Linked DNA regions of Homo sapiens: regions 1 and 3 are each linked to region 2. The links are contacts of gene promoters, found by promoter capture Hi-C in human tissues and cell types (Jung and others, 2019). All regions are on one chromosome and are shown on one strand. Each heading gives the region's core, a stretch centred on a gene start or on the middle of the fragment in contact. The rest is flanking DNA. Distances are from core to core; before and after follow the strand shown. Region 1 overlaps REEP1 (receptor accessory protein 1). Region 2 holds the start of REEP1 (receptor accessory protein 1). Region 3 has its middle 42 kb from the start of REEP1.

Evidence for each region. The method cuts DNA at HindIII sites, captures the fragments that hold promoters and counts their contacts. A contact is called where the count stands out against the background at its distance.
Region 1: a fragment that was not itself captured here is called in contact with the fragment with the promoter of REEP1 in region 2 in 3 of the 25 tissues and cell types used here (bladder, heart right ventricle and neural progenitor cells).
Region 3: a contact is called between a fragment that was not itself captured here and the fragment with the promoter of REEP1 in region 2, in 1 of the 25 tissues and cell types used here (adrenal gland).

What each region holds. Positions count from the first base shown.
Region 1 is chr2:86,291,898-86,295,647 of GRCh38, forward strand. The region is part of intron 1 of REEP1 (receptor accessory protein 1); the gene reads right to left. Among named protein-coding and RNA genes, the nearest start is that of REEP1, 44 kb to the right of the region's middle. The HindIII fragment of the contact is 3,803 bases long and covers 591-3,750 here.
Region 2 is chr2:86,335,832-86,339,254 of GRCh38, forward strand. It overlaps REEP1 (receptor accessory protein 1), which reads right to left and starts at 1,795. Exons shown (of 9, transcript NM_001371279.1): 1 at 1,648-1,795. The coding sequence starts at 1,679. The HindIII fragment of the contact is 14,274 bases long and covers 1-3,423 here.
Region 3 is chr2:86,377,955-86,381,427 of GRCh38, forward strand. No RefSeq gene overlaps it. Among named protein-coding and RNA genes, the nearest start is that of REEP1, 42 kb to the left of the region's middle. The HindIII fragment of the contact is 5,724 bases long and covers 1-3,473 here.

The DNA.
Region 1 (3,750 bases), core at 1,242-3,741, 43 kb before region 2:
TGCAAGCAGGAACAAACATTCTGTAAATTTCCAATTGATACTGTTCCACTCCACAATCCAATCCACACAAATCCCTCAACCACAAATGTCTGCCTAAATCTGTTGTTTTTGTTTGTTTTTAAGTCTTAATTGTAGAGATTCCTATTCTTAAGCAACCCAGCTTTATTGTGTGTGGTAGAAAGAGGCTGGGCTTTGACTTCAGACCTGAGTTTGAATCCAGCTCCAACCCTGACTAGCTGTGGAGTGGCAAGCATGCTTCTTAACTACTCTGAACCAGTTTCCTTGAGTACAGAGACCAAAAACACCTACTTTCAACAGCCACTATGCAGATTAAATGAGGAGACTGTAGGTACAAATTTAACTTACCAGAGACACTCTAGATGAATGACAAATATCAGTTCCCCTCCCTTCTACAGAAACAGTAACTGCAAATGCCAATTCTTTTAACCACAAAATGTTTTTCATTCAATCATTAAATATGTGCTGAGCACCTACTGTGTGCCCTGGGCCATCTGATAGGAAAGGCAGGCAGCAAGCAGATAATTATACAAATAACTGGTTATTGTCATCACAATAATTGTGATGAGTCCTGCTGAGTCTGTTTTGAAGAAGAGAGAAGATTCACTTACAATGACTGTCCTGTGGTTGCCTATTTCCCAGCTTATGCTCCCCTCCCCAGACCTCAGAGCCAGAGACCTGACCCCCAGCCAGAGGGTTCTGTGCTGAAGGGTTATGGTTTTCTCCTTCTGGTGGGCTTCATCTAAAGCCCCCTACATGGTATATATTTAGGCTGAGAAAAGGACTGCTGGGCCTTCCTATGTGCACCATGAAAAAGGGGTGGGGGGAAAGAGTGAGGAGCTCTTTGAGATTGACTGGCAGGTGGTCAGCGGGTATCTGTGGGGTTTTCTGGGGACTTGTCTGCTCAGCTGGTGCCCTCCTCGCTCTCACACAGCAGGTACTGATGTCCTCTGCCAGGGCCCAGCCAACTTTGAGTGCATGTGTCGGTCTGGCAGAGGGTATCAAAAGCCCTGGGGAAGGCCATGGGAACAGGACAAACCTTTACTAATGCCCACCAGGCACTGTACAAGGCACTGATCCCCACAGAAGTCAGGTGAGGCAACTACTATCCATTCCCTCTTACACAGGAGGGACCTGGGACATTAAGAGGTTAAATTCATTCATTCATTCATTCATTCATTCATTTGTTTGTTCGTTCATCCAACAGACATTTATTCAGTCCCTACTCTGTGTCAGATTCTGAGGCCAACACAAGGTCACAGAGCTGCTAACTGAATGAGCTGGATTCAAATGCTCTATCTGGCTTCAAACTCTGCTCTTCTAATCCAACTTGATACCTCAAAGTCAGAGGTTTTATCTTCAGGGAAGTCACAACATGGCCGGGGTGCCAGGTGTATCAGAACAAGAAAGGTGGCAGGCAAAGCTGCGTGTGCTAAGTATGGAAGGAAAGACAAATGATGATGGGCAAAACTACGGAGATAGAAAACAGATGAGCTGCCAGAGGCTGGCAGTGGGGTAGAAGAAGATGATGACTACAAAGGGGCATGGAGGAAGTTTTGGAGGCAATGAACCTGTTCTATATTTACACTGTGGTTGTGATTACATGACTGTATGCACTTGTCAAAGCTCACAAAACTATACAGTAAAAAGGGTGAATTTCACTGTGTGCAAATTATTAGGAATTTATACAGAAAATTTAATCAGGAAAATCAAGATTTGAATTCAAATTATACAGGAAAGTTCAGGTTTTTCCAGCCCCCTCACTCAGCTGTACTGAGGCTGCATCGCTTCTGTTTATAGTCCTATGACACCATGTGAACAAACACTGCCAAGTGAGGCTGGTCTTATACGTTTAGTTACTGATTTCCCCATCTGTTAAAATCAGCCAAGTTAACAGAGTAGAATGGTTATGTCTCAAAAAGATATTTGCATACCCATGTTCATGGCAGCATTACTCACAATAGCCAAAAGATGGAAGCAATCCAAGTGACCATCAACAGATGAATAAATAATGAATATTATTCATCCTTTCAAAGGAAGAAAACGCTGACACTTGCTAAGATGGATGAACTATGAGTATATTATGCTAAGTTAAATGGGCCAATCACAAAAAGGCAAATACTGAGTGATTACATTTATAAGTGGACTACTCTAGATAACTCAACTCCTTAACTAGATAAGTAAAACTCATAAAAATAGAAAGTAGAATGGTGGTTGCCACAGGCTGGGGGGATATAGGGAGTTGATAATGGGTGTGGAGTTATAATTTTCAGTTTTGCAAGATGGAAGCTTCTGGAGATTGGTTGTACAACAATGTGCAATAAATATACACTACTGACTGTACATTTAAAAATGGTTAAGATGGTAAATTTTATGTCATGTGCTTTTATCACAATTAAAATAAAATAAATTCATGACATTTAGGAACCAAAAAAATATCTGCATGAATATTTGTTCAAAATCATCCATAGTTAAAAATTTTATAAAAACAGAATTTACTTAGTATAGGTCATTAGTTCATTTAATCCATAAAAGATTACTTCTAAAAAAGTTATAAGAAAACAGAATATATAATCTTTCAATTTATATCTGTTTGATGCGACAATGCTATTTTGTAAAATTTACTAAAATTTTCAAACATCTCAATTTATTCAATCCATTGTAATGACATTTAAGATGAGTGAAAATTAACAAGTAATGCAAGTAAATATATTTTTTACTGGTTCTGGTTGTAGAGGAAAAAACATTGCTGTATATTATGTTCTATTAAGAAGTTACACTATTAAAATGTTTCTGAGATTTATATTTTAGATAGATAGATAGATAGATAGATAGATAGATAGATAGATAGATAGGTTTCTAACTTGTTCCAGAAAGGATCTGAGATGGCTTGGTTATAAATAATTGTGTGGCTCATAAGAAATTACCATGATTCCAGGCCACTGGGTTTGTCTGGCAGCAGAAGGGCTCAGAACTGCTAACAAAAGCACGGTTGTTACCTCACTAGAAGGGGAGGGTGGGACTATGTCCCACCTGCCCACAGAAGAACAAGGATTGTGTGAAACAAAGGATGTTTGGCTCAGGTCCAGCATGGCACCCTGATTAGAACACAAAACCTATTTTAAAAAAAAAGAAAAGAAAAGAAAAAAAGCAAGCTGGAAAACAGCAGCTTTACTTCAATGAGCAAAATTTAAATTCTGAGAGAATTTTCAGCACGTGTCTTAATTATGAGTGAGTCAGGACAATCAGGGAACAAATGCAGCTCGCAGCTGCTAAAGTGCGCTTCTGGCTGGAAGTTCTGGACCTTGCTCCCGAGTTGGCCAACCTGGGGAAGAAGGAAGCAGAGAGACTGGGGCGGGAACCCACCGTATGTACCTCTCGCACACCTGCCCTGCAGATGACTTAGGAGAGCCACTGCTGGCTGCACAGCTCCAAGGGCCCTGGCCACCATGTGCAATACAGACCCTGTGTAAGGAAGGTGAGGTCCTCCTTTGGATAACAATTTTTTATGTTTGATGCTTTGAAGGGCAATCCTCGGTAATGCTCTAAAAAGTATGGTGGAATACTGCACAATAGTTAAAAAGTTAAAATATAACAAACAGCTGCTTTGTGTTTTGTTTTTGTTTTGAGACGGAGTCTTGCTCTGTCACCCAGGCTGGAGTGCTTCGGTGTGATCTCCACTCACTGCAAGCTCCGCCTCTGCAAGCTCCGCCTCCCGGATTCAAGCAATTC
Region 2 (3,423 bases), core at 545-3,044:
CAGAGCGAGACTCGGTCTCAAAAAAAAAAAAAAAAAAAGGGCAGGGGTGAGGGAGGTGCTAATAAAACTAATGATAGTCACATGACCCAGTGCTAATAAAACTAATGATAGTCACATGACCCAGGATCAGATGCCCTCACTCCCAGCCCAGCAGGACCTACAGAGAGCCCACCAGCCAGGCCAGCTCAACTCTCCAGCCCCACCCTGAGGGCTTCCCAGAAGCCACTGGCAATATCGATCCCAGAGAGGAAACACCACCCTGAAGGCAAGACAGTGTTGGTCAGGCATGAGGCTGGGCAAGGCGTGTCAGCCACTTTCCTGTATTATTCATGTCGGCTCTGCCAGCAGAAATCTTCTAAATATTTAACATGCCACCTCAAGGTGCAGCGCAAACACCCCGCAGTCAGGAACAGCTGTGGAGAGGCCTTCACGGAATGACTTGGGGGCTGAGAGGCACAGACACTGGCTTTGGGAGGAAAGCCCTGAATGGTGGCGGGAGACAATGCTGAGATCCACTTCGGAAGGGAAAATCAGTAAAGAAGGGAAGGGAGATGGGTGGTGTTTCAAAACGTGGGGAGTGATGGTGCACAATCACTGGGGTCCAGAGCCCCGTGTTCTCAGACAAAGAAAAAGCCCGAGGTGCCTGCCACCCTCCTCCCCGCCTTAGACTCCCCACACCCATTTCAGCCCCTGCTAGCTACAGCAGGTGGCAAATCTGTTCTGACTCAGGCCAGGATGGTTAGGGAAGAACAGGGACTTGGAACAGCCACGTCTATCTCCAAAGGAGAATAAATCCACCGGGGAAGCTCTTCAAACGCCTACAGGTCCTGGGGCTTGAAGGAGAAAATCGGCCCCCACGCCCACCCCCAATGACTTCACACAGACCTCACCCTAGATGACTCTGCGCTCTCCTGCAAGGCCTGGGAGGTGTCATCGCCACCATGCGGGTGGCTGTCACTTGAAAATTTCCCGTGCATTCCTGGAGGTACCTGCCCCTGTCTCTCAATCCCCTGCAAAAGGAGTCGGAGCCGGGGGCTCCAGGCGTTTACTCCAAGATTCACATGCGTCTTCCCATGTCCCAGCTGCCTTTGCCGCTGTCGATGCAGACACCTAAAAAGGAGGATTTTTCCAACCCCACTGGGAGCCCCGCCTCTGCCTCTCCACCCGTTCCGCGCTGACCCTCCAGGCAGCGCCCCTGGTTCGTCTGCGCTGTCCTTTCCACCTGACAAAAGCTGGGGCGGCGGGGCGCGGCGCCGGGCGACCTCACATTTCTGCCAAAGGAGAGAGACGCGTGTCCGCGGTGCGCCCATTCGGGGCCTCTGCAAATCGACCGAGCTGAGGAACAAAGCGGCCAGCGCGCGGCGAGACGCAGCCCCCACGGAACCCCCGAGCGCCCCAGCCCTCGCCGTCCCGGCCCAGCCCCCCGCAAGCGGCCGCCGGCGCCGGCTGCCTCCTGGGCAGCAGCCGCGTCCTGCGCCGCCCGTCCGCCCGCAGGCGTCCTCGGCGGCTACTGTACCTGCTAAATTTAGCTGCGCCGGGTATTAATAGCCCGAGCCACTGGGACCGGGCGCTGTAGGGGCGCGCGCAGCCCGGGGCCGGGGGCGGGGAGGGAGGGGACGGAGGGGCGCGGGGGAGAAGGCCACTTACACCACCAGCCTGGAGATGATCCATGACACCATGGCGGGCAGGCGGGCGGGCGAGGCCCGGGCGGCGCGGCTCGGCTAGGCTGCGGGCGGCGCGGGCTGCTGCGGCGTTCCCGGAACGTCAGTCAGCTCACGGCAGCCGCCGCCAGACTGAGCGCGCCCGCCGCCCTGCCCGGCGTTCGCGCGTTGGCGCAGCCGCGGCACGTTCTGGCGGCGGCGGCGGCGGCCCCAGCCCCCCGGGGCTCGGCGGGCCCGCAGCGATTGGGCGGTGAGCTGGTCAGGGCACCCGCGGGCCCGCCCCGTCCCGCTCGCCCTGGCCCCCGGCTGAAGGCGGGCGCGTCCTGCGCGCTCCCCGGGGCACCGGCCCCGCCAAAGGAACCCTGCAGCGGCCCCGTTTGCAGGGCAGGGACCCGGGTGCTGCCCCACCCTCAGCGTTCCAGCGGAGAAACTGAAGTCCGAACCTGAACCTCGGGAATCTGTCTGCACCTGTCTAGGTGGGATGCTGTCATCCCTCATTCAGCTAGTGCGTTAGCCTCATAAAGGGTTTACCTGGATCCAGACCTAACCTCTTCAGTCTGTCCGTTGCTCAGCACTTTCTGCATAAGAAACAAACCTGGGCGCTTGCCTCCCTACTTAAAATTCTACAGAGTCCCTATATGATCGTGGTACCTGCCTAGAACCGTGTTGCCAAGACCATTCCCCCAAATAGTCCTCTAGCTCTTTTCCCTCCAGGCATCTTGGACTCAAATATTTGCTGTTTCTTCTTCCCTGTCAGTACACGCCACGCCTCATCGTCCTGCCTTGGTTTGATTCAGCTCCTTCTTCTAGGCTGGGCTGAAGGGCTACTTCTTCCTAGGGAAGGCCTTTCCTTGGGGGCTGCTCCGGGCCCTAGGAGGAGACTAGAAGCTGCGACTGCTTAGCACCAGTGCCCCGCTGAGCCACGTTGAACTCTTAGGCAAAAGGGAACTTGTGCACCCTATATAAACGTTTTTATGTATTTTTTAAAATACCGTATTAAATATTATGGTGGTTTTTTTTGTTGTTGTTGTTTTTTTATGAGACAGAGTCTCGCTCTGGGGTGCAGTGGCGCGATCTCGGCTCACTGCAAGCTCCGCCTCCCGGGTTCAAGCGATTCTTCTGCCTCAGCCTCATGAGTAGCTGAGATTACAGGAGTGCGCCACCACGCCCAGCTAATTTTTGTATTTTTAGTAGAGACGGGGTTTCACCATGTTGTCCAGGCTGGTCTCAAACTCCTGACCTCGTGATCCGCCCGCCTTGGCCTCCCAAAGTGCTGGGATTACAGGAGTGAGCCACCTATTATGTATTTTAGTTGCTGAATTTTATGGCACCTCTTAAATGTTGCACCCTCACTGAGCGCCTCACTCTGCTCACCCTAGTCCCGGCCGCAGATAGTACATTATTCTGTTACACTGGAAACGCTTTGTCCTCTACTCCTAGGCTCTGCTGCTGCTTTTCCCACCCTCCAATAGCTTAGGTTCTGCGTGGTGCTCCCAGCGCCCTGTCCTTTGCTGATGATGGTGTCATGTATAATTCAGTGTCAGATGTGAGAAGCGCAGGAGACAGCTTAGTACTCTCAGATGTAGCAGAATCTGTGCGTGCGTGTGCCTGATATAGTCAGAAGAAAGACTTCACGGACAACAAAGGGACTGCAGATGAGACATGCTCTCATATCTCAGGTCTCCAAAGAACCCATAAAATAGCTGTAATGTAGCAGTTTTTTCATGCTGCCTTGACCCAGTTTTGAGGCTCAGGCTGGAGG
Region 3 (3,473 bases), core at 81-2,580, 42 kb after region 2:
CCACCTCCTGGGTTCAAGCAATTCTACTGCCTCAGCCTCCCGAGTAGCTGGGACTACAGGCCCACACCACCATGCCCAGTTAATTTTTTGTATTTTTAGGAGAGACAGGGTTTCACTATGTTGGTCAGGCTGCTCCCCAACTCCTGACCTCAGGTGATCTCCTGCCTCGGCCTCCCAAAGTGCTGGGATTACAGGCATGAGCCACTGCTCCCAGCCGTTACTAATTTTTGTACATTGATTTTTGTATTATCCAACTTTACTGAATTCATCGATCAGTTCTAACAGTTTTTTAGTGGAGTCTTTAGGATTTTTAAAATATGAGATCAAGTTGTTTGCAAACAGGAAGATTTTGATTTTCTCTTTTCCAATTTAGATGCCCTTTTCTTTTCTTTTTTTTTTTTTTGAGACGGAGTCTCGCTCTGCCGCCCAGGCTGGAGTGCAGTGGACGATCTCGGCTCACTGCAACCTCCGCCTCCCAGGTTCACGCCATTCTCCTGCCTCAGCCTCCTGAGTAGCTGGGACTACAGGTGCCTGCCACCATGCCCGGCTAATTTTTGTATTTTTAGTAGAGACAGAGTTTCACCATGTTAGCCAAGATGGTTTCAATCTCCTGACCTCGTGATCCGCTCACCTTGGCGTCCCATTTCTTTTCTTTTCTTTTCTTTTCTTTTCTTTCCTTTCCTTTGCTTTCCTTTCCTTTCCTTTTCTTTTCCTTTCCTTTTCTTTCTCTCTTTCTTTCTCTCTCTTTCTTTCTTTCTCTCTTTTTTTTTTTTGCCTAATTGCTCTGACCTTAGACTTCCAGTGCTATGTTGAATAAAAGTAGTTAAAGTAGGCATCCTTGTCTTGTTCCAGATCTTAGTGGAAAGGCTTTCAAATTTTCCCTGTTCAGTATAACATTAGGTGTGAGTTTGTCATATATGGCCTTTATTGTTTTGAAGTACATTTCTTTGATACCTGATTTGTTGAGAGTTCTTATCATAAGAAATGTTGAATTGTATCAAATGCTTTTTCTGCATCTATTGAGATAATCATATGGTTTCTGTCCTTCATTCTGTTCAAGCAACGTATCACAGTTGTTGATTTGTGTATGTTGAATCATCTTTGCATCCCTAGATAAGTCCTACTTGACCATGGTGTTTTATTTTTTTGATGTGCTGTTGCATTCAGTTTGCTAGTATTTTGTTGAGGATTTTTGCATCTATGGTCATCAGGGATATTAGTCTGTAGTTTTCTTTTGTGTGTGTGTCCTTCTCTGGTTTTGGTATCAGGGTAATGCTGGCCTTGTAGAGTGAGTTAGAAAGAATTCCCTCCTCTGGAGTTTTTTGGAAAAGTTTGAGAAGAATTGGTATTAATTCTTCTTTGCAAGTTTGGTAGAATTCAACAGTCAAACCATCCAGTCATTGACTTGTCTTATTGGGAGACTTTTTATTACTGATTCAATCTCATTATGTATTATTGGCCTGTTTATGTTTTCTATTTTTTCATGGTTCAATCTTAGCAGGTTGTATGTGTCTAAGAGTTTACTCATTTCCTCTAGGTTTTTCAATTTATTGGCACATAGTTTTTCATACTAGTCTCTAATAATTCCTTGTATTCTGTGGTATCACATGTAACATATTTTCTAAATCTCAGATTCTATTTCTTAATCTAGCTAAAGGCTTGTCAATTTTGTTTACCTTTTTTTAAAACTAACTTTTGTTATGTTAATCTTTTATATTATTTTAGTCTCAATTTCATTTATTTCTGCTCTAATCTTTATTATTTCTTTCATCGTACTAATTTTGGATTTGTTTTGTTCTTGCTTTTCTAGTTCCTTGAGGTATATCATTAGTTTGTTTATTTGACATTTTTTGACTTTCTTGATGTAGGTGTTTATGGCTATAAACTTCCCTATCGGTACTACTTTTGTTGTGTCCCATATGTTTTGGTATGGTGTGTTTCATTTTCATTTGTTTTAATAAATATTTAAACTTTCTTCTCAATTTCTTCACTGACCCTTTGGTCATTGAGCAGCATGTTGTAAAATGTACGTGCATTTGTACAGTTTCCAAAGTTCCTCTCTTATTGATATCTAATTTTATTCCATTGTGGTCAGAAAAGATACTTGATATGATCTTGATTTTAAAAAATATTTTGTGGCTTGTCTTGTGGCTTAACATATGGTCTATCCTGGAGAATGTTCCATATGCTAATAAGAATGTGTATTCTGCATCTATTGGATAAAATGTTCTGTAAATGTCCATTGGGTCCATTTGGTCTATAGTGTAGTTTAACTCTAATGTTTCCTTGTTGATTTTCTGTCTGGATGACCTTTCCATTGCTGAAAGTGAGCCATTGAAATATCCTACTATTATGGCATCGCAGTCAATCTCTCCCTTTAGGTCTATTAATATATTTGCTTTCTATATTTAGATGTCCAGTGTTGGGCATATATGTATTTATCATTTTTATACCCTCTTGCTCTATTGACTCATTTATAAATACATAATGGCCTTCTTTGCCTTTTTTTTTTTTTTTGCCATTCTTACTTAAAGTCTATTTTAGTATAGATATCCTGCTCATTTTTGGTTTCTTGTCTAATATAAGTACAGCTATTCCTTTTTTTTTTTTTTTTTTTTTTTGAGATGGAGTCTTGCTCTGTCACCCAGGCTGGAGCGCAGTGGCACCATCTTGGCTCACTGCAGCCTCTGCCTCCTGGGTTCAAGTGATTCTCCTGCCTCAGCCTCCCAAGTAGCTGGGATTACAGGTGCGTGCCACCATGCCCAGCTAATTTTCTTATATTTTCAGTAGAGACGGGATTTCACCATGTTGGCCAGACTCCTGACCTCAGGTGATCCACCCACCTTGCCCTCCCAAAGTGCTGGGATTACAGGCTTGAGCCACCATGCCCAGACCTGGTTTTTATCTAATATAAGTATAGCTATTCCATTTTTCATCGAAATATCTTTTTCCATTTTTTCACTTTCAGTCTTGTGTGTATCTTTTTCCATTTTTTCACTTTCAGTCTTGTGTGTATTTATAGGTGAAGTGAGTTTCTTGTAGGCAACGTATAGTTAGGTCTTATTTTTTCTTTAATCCATTCAGCCACTCTGTGTCTTTTAATTGGATAATTAAATTCATTTACATTCAAGATTATTATTGATAGGTAAGGACTTACTACTACCATTTTGTCACTTGTTTTCTGGTTTGTTTTGTAGACTCTTTCTTCCTTTTTTCTGTCTTCCTTTGTAGTTACGTGGTTTTCCCTAGTAGAGATGTTTTGATTGCATGCTATTTATTTTTCTATTATAAATGTATCTATTATAAATTTTTGCTTTGTGGTTACCATGAAGCTTATAAAACACTCTTACAGTTATAACATGTTATTTTAAATGGATAACGACTTAACTTTATTAACAAAGCAAAGAAACAAAATTAAACTCTACACTTTAACAATATCTCCTCCACTTTTTGGCTTTCTGATATTTCAAATT